Regions from separate parts of the Homo sapiens genome. Here regions 2, 3 and 4 are each linked to region 1. The links are contacts of gene promoters, found by promoter capture Hi-C in blood cells and fetal thymus (Javierre and others, 2016). All regions are on one chromosome and are shown on one strand. The core of a region is centred on a gene start or on the middle of the fragment in contact, and the rest is flanking DNA. Distances in the headings are between cores, read along the strand shown. Region 1 holds the start of SLC26A8 (solute carrier family 26 member 8). Region 2 holds the start of ETV7 (ETS variant transcription factor 7). Region 3 overlaps ETV7 (ETS variant transcription factor 7). Region 4 overlaps PNPLA1 (patatin like domain 1, omega-hydroxyceramide transacylase).

Evidence for each region. Contacts are between HindIII fragments. The CHiCAGO score rates a contact against its expected background, and 5 or more counts as called.
Region 2: a fragment that was not itself captured here is called in contact with the fragment with the promoter of SLC26A8 in region 1 in 3 of 17 cell types (total CD8 T cells, naive CD8 T cells and naive B cells); the score reaches 5.8 in total CD8 T cells.
Region 3: a contact is called between a fragment that was not itself captured here and the fragment with the promoter of SLC26A8 in region 1, in 7 of 17 cell types (naive CD4 T cells, naive CD8 T cells, total CD4 T cells and 4 more). The highest score is 9.5, in naive CD4 T cells.
Region 4: a fragment that was not itself captured here is called in contact with the fragment with the promoter of SLC26A8 in region 1 in 1 of 17 cell types (naive B cells); the score reaches 5.5 in naive B cells.

The regions. Positions count from the first base shown.
Region 1 is chr6:36,022,755-36,026,214 of GRCh38, reverse strand. SLC26A8 (solute carrier family 26 member 8) reads left to right here and starts at 1,574. Exons shown (of 20, transcript NM_052961.4): 1 at 1,574-1,711. RefSeq lists enhancers at 1,128-1,627, 1,628-2,129. The HindIII fragment of the contact is 10,062 bases long and covers 641-3,460 here.
Region 2 is chr6:36,384,812-36,388,271 of GRCh38, reverse strand. It overlaps ETV7 (ETS variant transcription factor 7), which reads left to right and starts at 603. Exons shown (of 8, transcript NM_016135.4): 1 at 603-736; 2 at 2,603-2,738. The coding sequence starts at 731. It overlaps ETV7-AS1 (ETV7 and PTX1 antisense RNA 1), which reads right to left and starts at 1,652. Exons shown (of 2, transcript XR_926758.3): 1 at 1,342-1,652. RefSeq lists a silencer at 373-582 and an enhancer at 709-1,532. The HindIII fragment of the contact is 215 bases long and covers 1,444-1,658 here.
Region 3 is chr6:36,368,872-36,372,331 of GRCh38, reverse strand. It overlaps ETV7 (ETS variant transcription factor 7), which reads left to right. Exons shown (of 8, transcript NM_016135.4): 5 at 772-1,002; 6 at 3,261-3,403. Among named protein-coding and RNA genes, the nearest start is that of ETV7-AS1, 16 kb to the left of the region's middle. The HindIII fragment of the contact is 7,053 bases long and covers 1-3,460 here.
Region 4 is chr6:36,296,530-36,299,989 of GRCh38, reverse strand. All of the region lies in intron 5 of PNPLA1 (patatin like domain 1, omega-hydroxyceramide transacylase), which reads right to left. Among named protein-coding and RNA genes, the nearest start is that of PNPLA1, 28 kb to the right of the region's middle. The HindIII fragment of the contact is 3,545 bases long and covers 146-3,460 here.

The sequences.
Region 1 (3,460 bases), core at 325-2,824:
AACAGAGTCATTTGTAAAAACCAAACAAGATAAATGTGAATGGGCAAGGCATTCTAACCCCATGCCTACATCCATTATCAACCTATGCCTATGCTAAAGCTTGTTACAATGAGCAGAAGAATCAGATCCTGTCTCATTCTCTTAGTTTCTTGTATTAGAAATAACTAGATCCAAGCCAGGACATTTCTCAACATTTCCCGTGATTATTCTATTTTGTGTCATACACACCTTGGAGGGCTCAGACTTTGCATATCTTGTCCCAACATCTAGCACAATGTCTAGAACATAAAACATGTGTCATAAATATTTGTTGAAAAAATTATGAACAGTGACCATGATTTCAAGTGGTACAGTATCCTCAGTCCTCTTCAAGGAAAGCAATATAAAACCAAAAAACAGATAGTCATGGGTGATTCATGGAAAGCTGTTTTGGATCCAATGTAGCTTAGGCTGGAATTCTCTTATCTACAAAAACATGTTGCTTGAGAATGTTCCAAACTAGGGAGGATAGGAAGCTTTCTAAGAAGTAATGGAGGGTGAAGGGGAAGTAAGAGCAAAAACATGATTGTGAAGACATGAGGGATGGGGTTGGGGGGATCAAGGGAATGAGGGAATGGTTACAAAGGGTGAGGAGGAAGCTTGGAAGTAGGAATCCTCAGAAATGCACATTTTTATCCTACAAATTGGGATGATGAGGTGAGGGTGAATGAAAGGGTAAAGATAAAGTAAGCAGTATATTCATACACTCATTCAACCAATGTGTATTAAATGCCTACTAGGTGTCAAACACTTGCAGTTTAAAAGTGATTAAAAACTACAGTTGCTGCCGGTGTGGAGCTTACAATCAATGGGAGGGCAATCATTCAACAAAAATTAATTGAATACTTCCTATGTCCACCACACTGCTGTAGGCACTGATAATAAAACAGTTAATGAAAGGGATAAAAGTCCTTGCCCTCATAGGGGTAAGATGATTTACAAAAAGGAATACATAAAGTGCATTATAAGGTAGACATTAACACAGTCATCAAACAAACAAGTGTAAAACTGTAACTGGGCCAAGCAGGAATACAAGGTGGAGTGAGAGACAGTGCTAGGGACAGGGATAGGGTGGGAGGAGGGTAAAGGGAGTGAGTGCAGATGGCATGTCTGCATCCAGAGCAGATCTGGGCAGGAGGGTGTCATTCAGTGGGGAGAGCCGGGTTTGTGGGGCAGACAGCCTATGGTTGGAGACCTGGGTGACCCTCCTAGCCTCCATTTCTTTTTACCTCTTCTGACCTGAGGAAGGCTTAAGTCTTCCGGAGACGTTAGTGAATTACCGTCTGTGCAGTACACATGTGACACATGTGCACTGCTGTATGTTCAGGACACGAGGCCTGGCACCAAATAGGCCCTCGATCAAGAATAGCAAAACCTCGGAGAGAGAAGGAGCCTTGGTATACAGGTTTACCAAATACCAAGGGGATCCCACGACTCAGGTATGAGGAGGGCGACCCAGGTACCACTTTCCTGGCTCCCTAGCCCAGCTGCTCATGCTCCTCTTCCTCGTCCCCTCCCCCACTCTCATCTCCTCAGCCCGCCCGGAACGCCCGCGGGCTAGGCCACAACGGCTCGGGAACCGCCGCCGGTATCCGCGTCCGCAGCGCCGCCAGCCAGGCGAGAGCCGTGTGGGATCCCAGCGCCCGCACTCCCGCCCCCGCCAAGGAGCCAGGTGAGCCGCTGCTGGGAGACGCCTGGGCGCCGGGGGCTGCAGGTCCCAGGGCGGGGGCTGCGTCCGTCACCGGCAGGTACCCAGGTATGCCGCAGAGCCAGGCACGCCGTGGGCACTCAGTCAGTATCTGTGGAATGAATGAATGATGGTCGTCCCTGGGAGCTTATCTCTGAGGTATTGTCTCTACTTTCAAAGGCCGTGTGGATGGCAATGACAAGAGACAACAGTGTGTGCGTTTTGCAAGCTGCATCCTTTCAAATTCTCCTGTCTATATTGTCAAAAGCCCCAGAACTGACGTGCTACCTGCACCCCACCGCCTACCCCATCCATTTCCTCCTGAGGCCTGACTGCCCGGCCGTTCCTCTTCCTTTCAGACCCCACTGCTTTTGTTAATTTTGTTCCCTGTGACTGAATCCCCACCCCCACCTCCTTGCCCCTTTCTTTTCATGTCAAATGCCGTTGATGTGTCAGGGGCCCCGTGAAGCCTTCTCCAGCACCCCCACCCCAATAATGAGCATCTCTCCAACACACCATGTTACTCTATCCACATTGCATGGAAGGTGGTTGTCCTATGTTTATGTGTCCAATGGTCATCCGCTTAAGGACTGTCATCTTACTAGTCATCCCTAGCCACTAGCCAGAGTGACTAAAGGATCTAAAGGCCAGGCTCTTTGCTTATACCTTTTCTGTATTCCCAATACATTCTCCATAAAAACCTAGGTAGTAACAGGTGTAGGGTTGTTTCTGATGGAATTACAAATGCTTATTTTGAAAATTCGGAAGTAAATTTTGCCTTTCCGTGATTATAGAAAACATAAGAAAGTTAACAATATCAGGGGGAAGATATTCCTGCAACTAAACTAGCTTTCAAGATTTCATATTATTTGGGTCAATAGCTAAAAAATTGGATTGTATTTAAACTTTTTATTCTTGACTTTTTTTTTTTTTTTTTTTTTTGAGACAGAGTCTTGCTCTGTCGCCCAGGCTGGAATGCAGTGGTTTGATCTCGGTTCACTGCAACCTCTGCCTCCTAGGTTCAAGCGATTCTCCTGCCTCACCCTCCTGAGTAGCCAGGACTACAGGCACGCCATCATGCTCGGCTAATTTTTGTATTTTTATTAGAGACGGGGTTTCACCATGTTGGCCAGGCTGGTCTTGAACTCCTGACCTCAGCTGATCCAACCGCCTTGGCCTTCCAAAGTGCTGGGATTACAGGCATGAGCCACTGAGCCATGTCTGGCCTATTCTTTACTTTTAAAGCACTCTGAACACAGATAATGTAAATAATTAGATAAATGGATGGATGGATGGATGGATGGATGGATGGATGGATGGATGGATAAGGGTACTATGGAGGGTGAAAGAGCTAGGCCAAAAGTGCTTGTATTTTAACAGGGCCCCCAAATTTAGCACTGAAAGGCTCATGAAAGATAATCCACTATATTTATAGTGGTAGTCATACTTTAATTTTTATCAGAATCACCTGGACAGCTTCTTTGCTTTTTTTCTACCTAGCAAGACCTACTGAATCAGAATCTCTGGGGGCCCAGCAGTCTGGACAGCTTCTTAAAACAGACTGATGGCCCCCAGAGTTTCTGATTCAGTAGGTCTTGCTAAGTGGGGCCTACTCAACAGTAGGAGTTTCTGGTCATTGCATCTTCTTGGGAAGTGTCCTGCTAGTACATGAAAATGAGCCACTAGGATTTCTATGAAATCAAGAAAGACATAATGGAGCTGGAGAAATTCCAA
Region 2 (3,460 bases), core at 302-2,801, 360 kb before region 1:
GAGTAGTCTGGCCCTGCTCAGGAGAGCACAGCCGCTCTGATGGTGGTGCGACGGTTCCGGACCTGTGGGGCCTCAGCGGGGCCAAACGGCAGGCCGAGACAGTATCGGGGCCGGGAAGGTCACTCACCCCTAAAGGGAGAGGCACCATGCGAGGCCCCTTCCTATCCTATGTGCGGAGACTCACAGGGTCCTTCCTGGTCCTGGGCTCGGGACCGTGAGAGACGCAGTTGGTTCCGAGTTCAGGACTAGGGGTCCCCTTAGATCCTCAGATCCTGCAGAATCCCGGCTCTGCCCCAGTGGGAGCCAAGGCCAGGTCGCCAGAGGGACTGTCCGCCGGCTGGAGGCTGTGTGCAGGACCCACGCCTCCCAGGCTAGCGAGCGGGCAGCGCCCCGGTGCTGCGCTCCCACGGGGCCGGCCCCTGCCCTGCCCTGCCCTGCTCCTAGCCCGCAGCGGCGCAAGTGGAACCGCATCCCGCTCTTTCGTTTTCGTTTCCCGGAAGGATAGCGATTACCGGAGCGCCTCGCGCGCCTGCCCGCCTGCGGAGGACCCGGGCGCACACGCCTTGGCGCTTCTCGAAAGAGATTTCCTCCCACGCGACCTTCCAGTTCTCGGAGCCAGGTTAGGGGTTTGGCGGAGGAGGACTGCGGGGCGCGGGCCTAGGGCCCCAGCAGCCACAGCCAGGGGAGCGCTCAAGACAGAAAGCCGGTGGCTTCCTCACCTCCACCTGTAATGCAGGTAAGAGCCTGGCGGCTGAACACGCAGCGCGCACGCAGAGCCACCTGCTCCCGCATCCTTTCCTCACCACCTAGATTTCCAAACCTATTTTATCAGACCTTTTACCTGGCGGGAATCTCTCTTTCCAACACATTCCTAAACCTCACATCCATCCCTCACTCACTTCCCCTTCCACCTCCAGACGCGGGTCACCGCCCCTGACTCTCTCGGTGTCATACACAGCTCTGAAGGCATCACGCACAGCCCCTGCGGGCCCTTTCCGCAGCCCCCTTACCACTGGTCGCCCCTACACCAACCAGATGTGAGGTCTTTGGAAGTTCGTGCGCCAGCCAGGTCCTCACAGCTGGTGAACGCATTCTCGCAGGGAGCCCCTCTTTAGCAGCCTCTCCCCACTCGCCGGTTTTCTAGGTGCCTCGAGACTGCCCCCAGAGCTGGCGCCCCGTCCCACTCCAAGGCCTTTCTCCACTCCCCTCTCGCCAGGACCCATACCCATTATCAGACCCTTCCCTGGCCTCCATGCTGAAACCCAGGAGTCTGATCCTCAGCAGCTCCGTGGCTGGCGTTTCCCAGGCAGTTACAGCCTCGGAATTCCCCGCTCCTCTTACTTGGATGAGGACAGAGGAGTAGACAAAGAGCCTCCTGCAAGCCTCCTTGGCAAGTCCGAGGCAAGTCCTGTGCCTTGAGCCCCTTCTCCAGCAAGGCAAGCTTCCCTTTCCCCACCAGGAGGCAACCCCTGAGGTCTGATTACTTGGGAAACAGCACCAAAGGGGGACCGGCTGGAAATGAAGTGAGAACGACCCGGAAAGGTGTTGAATCCCCTTTCGCAGCAGCCAAGGCTTCTGGAGTTTGCTTTGCTGGCTCCGATCCAAATTCTCTCTCGGCAGATATCTCTCCTCGGATCCCAAGAGATGAATGTAAAGCTTTTGACAATCCTAGAGTGAAAAATGACTTGATGGAGCTGGTTTCACTTTTCCTTTCCGTGCTGTGGCAGCCTGTGGCTGGGCATGAGCCCGAAGGAGCTTCCTATTCCTACAAAATCCTGCCACTTTCTTCATTTTCTCATCTGAATGGATGAACCCCGTCATCTCTGGGGGCCATGCTGATTGTTGAATTGTAAAGATACAGGCTTCCCGTGGTGAGACCTTAGGATTCAGAAATGTATCCTTATCCTTTCTTTTTCTCTTTTGAAAATAGTGTTTGTTTGTTCTGAGACGGAGTCTTGCTCTCTTGCCCAGGCTGGAGTGCAGTGGCGTGATCTTGGCTCACTCCAACTTCCGCTTCCCGGGTTCAAGTGATTCTCCTGCCTCAGCCTCCTGAGTAGCTGGGATTACAGGCGCCGGTCACCACGCACGGCTAATTTTTGTATTTTTCGTAGAGATAATGTTTCACTATGTTGGTCAGGCTGGTCTCAAACTCCTGACCTCAAGTAATCCACCCGCCCCAGACTCCCAAAGTGTTGAGATTATAGGTGTGAGCCACCGCACCTGGTCTATTTGTTTATTTCTGATTTAAGGTCTTTTGATCCTGGCCCCTCAGGTTTCCTGTGTTGTCCTCACCAGGGATCCAGTGAGGATTCCTAGGCTTTCAGATTTCAATCATACAAGTCTTGGCAGGGGATCCCTCTTGGAGTTAGGCACATGCATGGAAAGCTTGAATTGGAAGGATGTCATTTATTGTGTCCACTGGGTACAAAATGTTGATGGTACTGAGTTGAAGATATACATGGTTCCTACCTTTAAGGTTGATGCAGTCTTCTGGTGGAGATAAACACTCTTTCCCTTCCAAAAAAATTCTTAAGACATTTAAAGATGGCTGAGCCTTCACCAAGATGCTCTTCTTTGACTGTCCTGGTTTTTCTCTCTCTAGGAGGGAGAATTGGCTATTTCTCCTATAAGCCCTGTGGCAGCCATGCCTCCCCTAGGCACCCACGTGCAAGCCAGATGTGAAGCTCAAATTAACCTGCTGGGTGAAGGGGGGATCTGCAAGCTGCCAGGAAGACTCCGTAAGTAGAGGGGAGGAGAAAAGCTGAGTTTTTAAAAGTAAATTTTTATTTTGTTTTAGATCCAGGGTCTTGCTCTGTTGCTTACTTAGGCTAGAGTGCAGTGGTGTAATCATAGCTCACTGCACCTTCAACTTCCAGCTCCTGGGTTCAAGTAATCCTCCCACCTCAGCCTCTCCAATAGCTGGGACTACAGGCACACTGGCTAATTTTAAAATTTTTAGTAGAAATGGGAATCTCAGTATGTTGCCCAGGTTGGTCTTGAACTCTTGGGCTCAAGCTATCCTCTCGCCTCTGCCTCTCAAAGTGCTGGGATTACAGGTCTGAACCACTATACCTGGCCCTTAAAATTAAATTTTTTTTTAAATAAGAGACAGGGTTGCTCTATGTTGCCCAGGTTGTTCTCAAACTCCTGGGCTCAAGTAATCCTCCCATCTCGGCTTCCCAAAGTGCTGGGATCACAGGCATGAGCCACTGTGTCTGGCCAAAATTTTATATATATCTCATACCATAACTTTGTATTGCATAAATATATACAATTATTATTTATAATTTGTCAATTAAAAATTTAATTTTTGCCAGGTGCCAAGATTAACTTACCTTCCCTCTGTTTGCTGTTTCTTTGCTGAGTTTTCTTTAGCTTTTTGTTTGTGATGGAGTCTCACTCTTGCCCAAGCTGGAGTGCAGTGATGTGACCTCAGCTCACTGCAACCTCCGCCTCCCTG
Region 3 (3,460 bases), core at 640-3,139, 350 kb before region 1:
TTCTCCCCCGTGCTCCTGCTGCTCCAGACACACGGGCCTTCGGGCCTTCTTGTTCACTGGACAAGTCTGAGATGCTCCTGCCCCAGGGCCTTTGCACTTACTGTTCCCTCTGCCTGGCATCCCCTCTCTGCTCTAGATACCCACAGAGCTCACTCCTCTACCTCCTTCAGGTCTGTTCAAATGCTAATGTCAGGGAGGCCTGAGCAGCCTCTCTAAAGTGGCAACCCCTGCTCCTTTCCCAGATTTCCCTATCTGCCTTAGGGTGATTTATTTTTTTCACCTCATATTGTATACTGTTTCTGTTTCCTTTTTATTTTAATCGTCCATCTCCCCTGCTCTCAACTAGCATATAAGCTCCCTGAGGGCAGGGGCTTTGGGAGCTCAGCGATATATGCTCAAGATTCTTAGAACAATGCCTGGTTCATAGAAGGCTCTCAATAAATACTCGTTGGGCAAATGGAGAGGACATGGGATACAGGGCCCCTGGGTTCTAGACCTGGCTCTGTCACTGCTTGGCTTTGCAGCCATTTTCATAGATGAGGGAACAGGCTTGACAGGTTGTTACTTGTGTGGGAGCTGGGGTTAGCACTTAGGCTGTCTGGCCCTCACCCACTGCCCCCCACTGCCTCCCTGACCTTCTAACCAGGGGCTGGTTGGAGAAAGAGCATCAGGAGTGCTGCCCCACAGGGCTCCCAGGCTCACCATTGAGGGATTGAGTTGGGGAGGCTTGGGGCCCACTGCCTGCTACCACTGGTGCTCATCTGCTTGCAGAGGTGACTGGCCCCTCTCAGATGGACACCCGAAGGGGCCACCTGCTGCAGCCACCAGACCCAGGGCTTACCAGCAACTTCGGCCACCTGGATGACCCTGGCCTGGCAAGGTGGACCCCTGGCAAGGAGGAGTCCCTCAACTTATGTCACTGTGCAGAGCTCGGCTGCAGGACCCAGGGGGTCTGTTCCTTCCCCGCGATGCCGCAGGCCCCCATTGACGGCAGGATCGCTGGTGAGTGGGAGGCTGTTCCTCTGGCCATGGAAGGTGCACTGAGTCTGAGTCTCAGAGTCACGAGTGATGAGGACAGGGCTATTTTGACCTGGTGATGGGAGGTCTGTGGCTGGGGGATTGCAGGGTAGCGTTGACTGTCCTGTGTGCTAGCCACAATCTGGTCACAGAGGGCAGTGATACCTGGGATCACCAAGCCTCACCCTGTCTCCCACACAGGGACAATTTACCCAGTCATATTCTGACACTCACATTAGCATGGAGTGCCACACCTGCCTTTTAAAACTTTATCTGTTTTAAAATAATTGAGCATTCACTATGTGCCAGGCGTGGTTCCCAAGCCCTTATTTAATTCTACAATGGCCTTTTGAGTTTGGTACTATTATTAGCCCCATTTCACAGATATGGAAATTGAGGCACAGAAAGGTTAAGTAACTTCTCCAAGATCACACAGCACTGGTTGAGGTGTGATGTGAACCCAGGCAGTCTGGCTCCAGATCCTGAGCGCTAACCAAATGATACACTTCCACTCTGCATTCATTGTTAAAGGATTAACAGGCAGACAACCAGACAGACTGACAGATAAGCTGAAGGGTGTTTTTCTAGTCATAATAGTGACACTGCATTTATTCTTTTTTTTTTTCAACTTTTATTTTAGGTTCAGGGGGTGCATGTGCAGGTTTGTTACATGGGTAAATTGCGTGCCACTGAGGTTTGGTGTATGAATAATCCTGTCACCAAGGTACTCAGCATAGTACTTGATAGGAAGTTTTTCTTTTCTTTTCTTTTCTTTTTTTGAGACGGGAGTCTGGCTCTTTTGCCCAGGCTGGAGAGCTGTGGCATGATCTCAACTCACTGCATCCTCTGCCTCCCGGGTTCAAGCGATTCTCCTGCCTCAGCCTCCTGGGTAGCTGGGATTACAGGCGCCCACCACCACACCTGGCTAATTTTTGTTTTATTAGTAGAGACGGTTTCACCATGTTGGCCACAGGCTGGTCTTGAACTCCTGACCTCAGGTGATCCACCCACCTCGGCCTCCTTTGGTGCTGGGATTACAGGCGTGAACCACCGTGCCGGCCTGTGATAGGTAGTTTTTTCCACCCTGGCTCTTCCCCTGTAGTGGTCCCCAGTGCCCAGTGTCTATTGTTCCCATTGTTATGTCCACACCACATTTATTCTATGAAGCCACAGAGTGGGCAGAAGCCTGGCTTTTGGGTTGGAAATGACTAGAAGTCACTAAAAAACAATTGGCCCAACACATAGAAATGATGAATACTTGAGGTGATGGATGCCCTAAGTACCCTGACTTGATCGTTACACACTCTATGCATGCAACAAGATCTCACATGGACGCCAGAAACATGCATAAATATTATGTATCAATAACAAACACAATGATCCACAATTACTGGGTTTTTTTTTTTTTAAGAGACAGGGTCTCACTCTGTTGCCAGGCTGGAGTGCAGTGATGCCACCATAGCTCACTGCTGCCTCAAATTCCTGGGCTCAAGGAATCCTCCCACTTCAGCCTCTTGCAATTACTGAATTCTTCAATTATAATGCTTAACATTCTTCGTGCACTTACAGTATACCAGGCACTGTGCTGAGGGTTTTGTGGTCTATTATGTTACCTAATTCTCTCACCACCCCATACAAGGAAGCTGGCTCAGAGAAGGTTGTGTAACTTGCCTGCAATGGCCCAGCCGACAGGCCCAGGTCCTGGGATTTCAGATCACACAGTTGCTCCCGGATGCCCACTTGCCCTCCCAATGGCATGCCTGGTTTTCCTGAGCCTCACCATTAGGGAGCTTGAAGGGGTGGATGTTATAATTAATAGAAGTCCAGGGGGCTGAGTGAGTGGGCCAGGGGCAGAGAGGGACCTGGGGTCAGGGGCCCAGCCCCTCAGCCTGTGGGCCCAGCACCTGCCCTCACATGGCTCTGATGCTGGGTGGAGCCGGTCAGACTCCCTGCTCTACCTGCCACTTAGGAGCTTGGCAACTTTAGATACCTCTGCACCTCTGAGCCCATTTCCTCACCTCTTCCTGGGGATAAAGGTAACGACTTCCCAGACTCAGGAAGACTGCCTGAGACAATGCGTGAGGAGCCCCATTAGTGGCTGTTTCTGTTGATATCATCATTTTCACCTTCCTGCTGGTGCTCCTAGGGCTCTGGCCGGGAGGCTTCCAAGAGTGCCTTTCTAACACCTGTCCTCACAGCTCCAGTAAAGCTGCGCTGCCTGCACTCCCTGTGCTAAATTGCAGACTGCCGCCTGCTGTGGGATTACGTGTATCAGCTGCTCCTTGATACCCGATATGAGCCCTACATCAAGTGGGAAGACAAGGACGCCAAGATCTTCCGAGTTGTGGATCCAAATGGGCTCGCCAGACTCTGGGGAAATCACAAGGTGAGCCTCGGCCAGCAGAATGGTCTCAACATAACCAGAAGGGGACAGAGTTGGGGG
Region 4 (3,460 bases), core at 669-3,168, 270 kb before region 1:
GTTCATGAGTTGTAACAAATGTACTGGACTGAATACCGTGTTATATATGTATCATTCTGTAACGTCTAACAGATGTGAGACAAACACCCTGTATTATTTTCACAAGTTATCCATAAATCTAAAACTACCCTAAAAAAACAAAGCTTATTAAGAGTCTAGGTGAGAAATGTACAAAAGAGTGGAACGAATGCTTCACCAAAGAAGATCTATGGGAGGCAAATAGACAAATGAAAAGATGCTCAAAGTCATTAGTCATTAGAGGAATACTGATTAAAACCACAATAAGTTACCGACATGCACCTGTTAGAAGGGCTAAAATGAAAAATTCTGAGCATTAATTAAAAATACCAAAAGTTGGCCGGGCGCAGTGGCTCACGCCTGTAATCCCAGCACTTTGGGAGGCCGAGGCGGGTGGATCACGAGGTCAAGAGATCGAGACCATCCTGGCCAACATGGCGAAACCCCGTCTCTACTAAAAATGCAAAAAATTAGCTGGGCGTGGTAGCGGGCGCCTGTAGTCCCAGCTACTCGGGAGACTGAGGCAGGAGAATGGTGTGAACCCAGGAGGTGGAGCTTGCAGTGAGCCGAGATCATGCCACTGCACTCCAGCCTGGGTGACAGAGCGAGACTCCATCTCAAAAAAAAAAAAAAAAACAGACAAAAAAACAAAAAAAACCCCAAAAGTTTTGGAGGAATGGGAACGCTCATCCACTGCTGGTGGGAATGAAACATGGTACAACTGCTTTGGAAAACAATTTGGCAGTTTATTAAAAAGTCAAACATATATTCTGGTTATATATCCAAAATAATTGAATAGGATCTGGAAGAGACATCCATGGGCACTGCAGCATTATCCACAATAGCCGAAAGATGGAAGCAACTCCAGTGTCCTTTGTCAGATGGATGGACAAAGAACATGTGGAATATATTCAGCTCTAAAAAGGAAGAAAATCGGCCAGGCGCGGTGGCTCACCCCAGTAATCCCAGCACTTTGGGAGGCCGAGGCAGGCAGATCACGAGGTGAGGAGATCGAGACCATCCTGGCCAACATGGTGAAACCCTGTCTCTACTAAAAATACAAAAATTAGCTGGACGTGGTGGCGTGTGCCTGTAGTCTCAGGTACTCAGGAGGCTGAGGCGGGAGAATCGCTTGAACCCAGGTGGCAGAGGTTGCAGTGAGCTGAGATCACACCACCACACTCTAGCCTGGACAACAGAGCGAGACTCCGTCTCAAAAAAGGAAGAAAATCCTGTCACATGCTACAGCTACAACATGGATGAACCTTGAGGCCATTATGTTAAGTTAAATAAGCCAGTCACAAAAAGACAAATACCGCATGATTCCATTTATATGAAGTACCTAGTGTAGTCAAAATCATCAGCACAGAAAGTGGGATGGTGGTTGCTGGGGGCTGGAGGAGGAGAAAAGGGGGAGTTGTTGATCAATGTGTGTAAAGGCTCAGTTTTGCAAGATGAAAAAGTTCTAGAGATCTGCTGCACAACAATATGAAATAGTTAACACTACTGAACTGTGTGCTTAAAATTTGTTACGTGTTTTTTTACCACAATTAAAATATTTGTGTATGTATGTTAAACATGAATGTACCATGCAATCCCGTCATTCCATTTCTAGGTATTTACCCAAGAGAAATGAAAGCATATGTCCACACCAAGACTCATGCGTGAGTGTTCATAGCAGCTTTATCCATAATAGCCCAAATCTGAAAATAACCTAAATGTCCATCAACAGGGGACTGGGTAAATGGGCTGTGGTATATGCATACAGTGGTATATTCAACTCTTTTGGTAGATGAGCTGTGGTACATTCATACAGTGGCACGGAACGTAAAAAGGAACAAACTATTTATACATTCAACAACATGGATGAATCTCAGAATAATTATGCAGAGTGAAAGAATTCAGATTTTTAAAAAAGAGTTCACATTGTAGTGAATTAATCTATAATGGCAGAAAGCAGATCAGGGGTTGCTTGGGAATGGCGGGGGGTGAGGGAAGGTGGGAGGGATCACGAAAGGGCATGAGGAAATTTTGGGGATGACGAATTATTCACTAACTTAATTGTGGTGATGGTTTCACAGGGTGTGTGTGTGTGTGTGTGTGTGTACAGAGAGACAGAGTCACTTACCAAACTGTGAGAGGGAAGAAGGGAGTGGGGGAGGAGGGCGGAAGAGAGGTTTGGCCAGGCATGCCTGAATGCCGGATGGATATTTTAGACATGGCATCCTCTGAGCTCCAACCTCACTCAGCACCCACATTCACACATCTGTGTGGGGAATGCGGATTTTCAAGCACGCCAGCCTGCGCTGCCATTCCCTTTGGCAGAAGGCCGCTGCAAGGATGGGCCGAGTGTAGACAGAGTGGCTTGCCTGGCAGCAAGAATAATTAATTCTCCTCCCTTGGGAGGGAGGAGAAAGAGGCTGTGAGAATGTGAGCTGAGGAATGGAGGGTGACACCTTTTGGGGTGTAGTTTCCTGCTGGAGGTGACCCCTACCCAGAAAGCAGCCCAGGGGAGGCTGGGCGGACTCCCATTTTCTGTTCCCAGATGGCAGGTGGGGATAAGAGTGTGGCTCTGGAGACCAACTGCAGTTTCTCAGTATGTGTCAGTAGTTCCTGTTCACATCTGATGCAGAGAGAAAAATCCAGTCCCACCAAATCCAAGAGGACTGAGGTGGTGGAGGTGAAATCTGCGCTGAGAAACCCGTGCCATACACTGGCAAATCGGAAGAGGAAGCAAAAATAGCTGGTAGTCAGCACGAGACCATTTCTCCTTTAGGAGTTGTATCTGTTCCTACTTGGAGTGATTCCAGGGCCATTGAAGAAGCCTGCCCCCATCCATATACTGGCTCAATTTTGGGGACAGATTCCTGAAGTGCCACCATCAGATTTCACCCAGCAGTAGGCGGGACTGACTGTGGCTAGGACTCAGCACTTTGACGTTCTCATGAGAGCTACCATTTATTTGAGCATTGTGATAAGGGCTTGTGGCTTTGCTCCTTTAATCTTCAAAATAAAACCATAAGGCCCCTTTTACAGATGAGGAAACTGAGGCCCCAGGAGATTAATTACCTGCTCAATATCACACAGTTAGTAGGTGTCAGGAGCTAGGATCTAAACCCCCTTTTTTTTACAGATTAGGAAACCAAGCCTTAGAGAGGGGAAGCAATTATCCGGAGGTCACACAGCTTGTGGGTGGGATGGGGGCCTTAGAGCTACTTGCCTCCAGGGCCCAGGTTTTCTCCATCCTGCTCTCCTGTCCGTCCAGCCTCTCCACCCCCCTTGTTGGGAGAAAGGACCCAGGAGAAAGTAGAGACAGGATAAGGGGAGCTTGGGAAGCAGGAAGGAATTTTGAAGAAGGGAAAAATAAGTGAGCACCTCCTAGGAAGAAAATCTCATCCAACCCCTTAATCTCACCCACAGAGTATTTTTTAAAGCTACATAC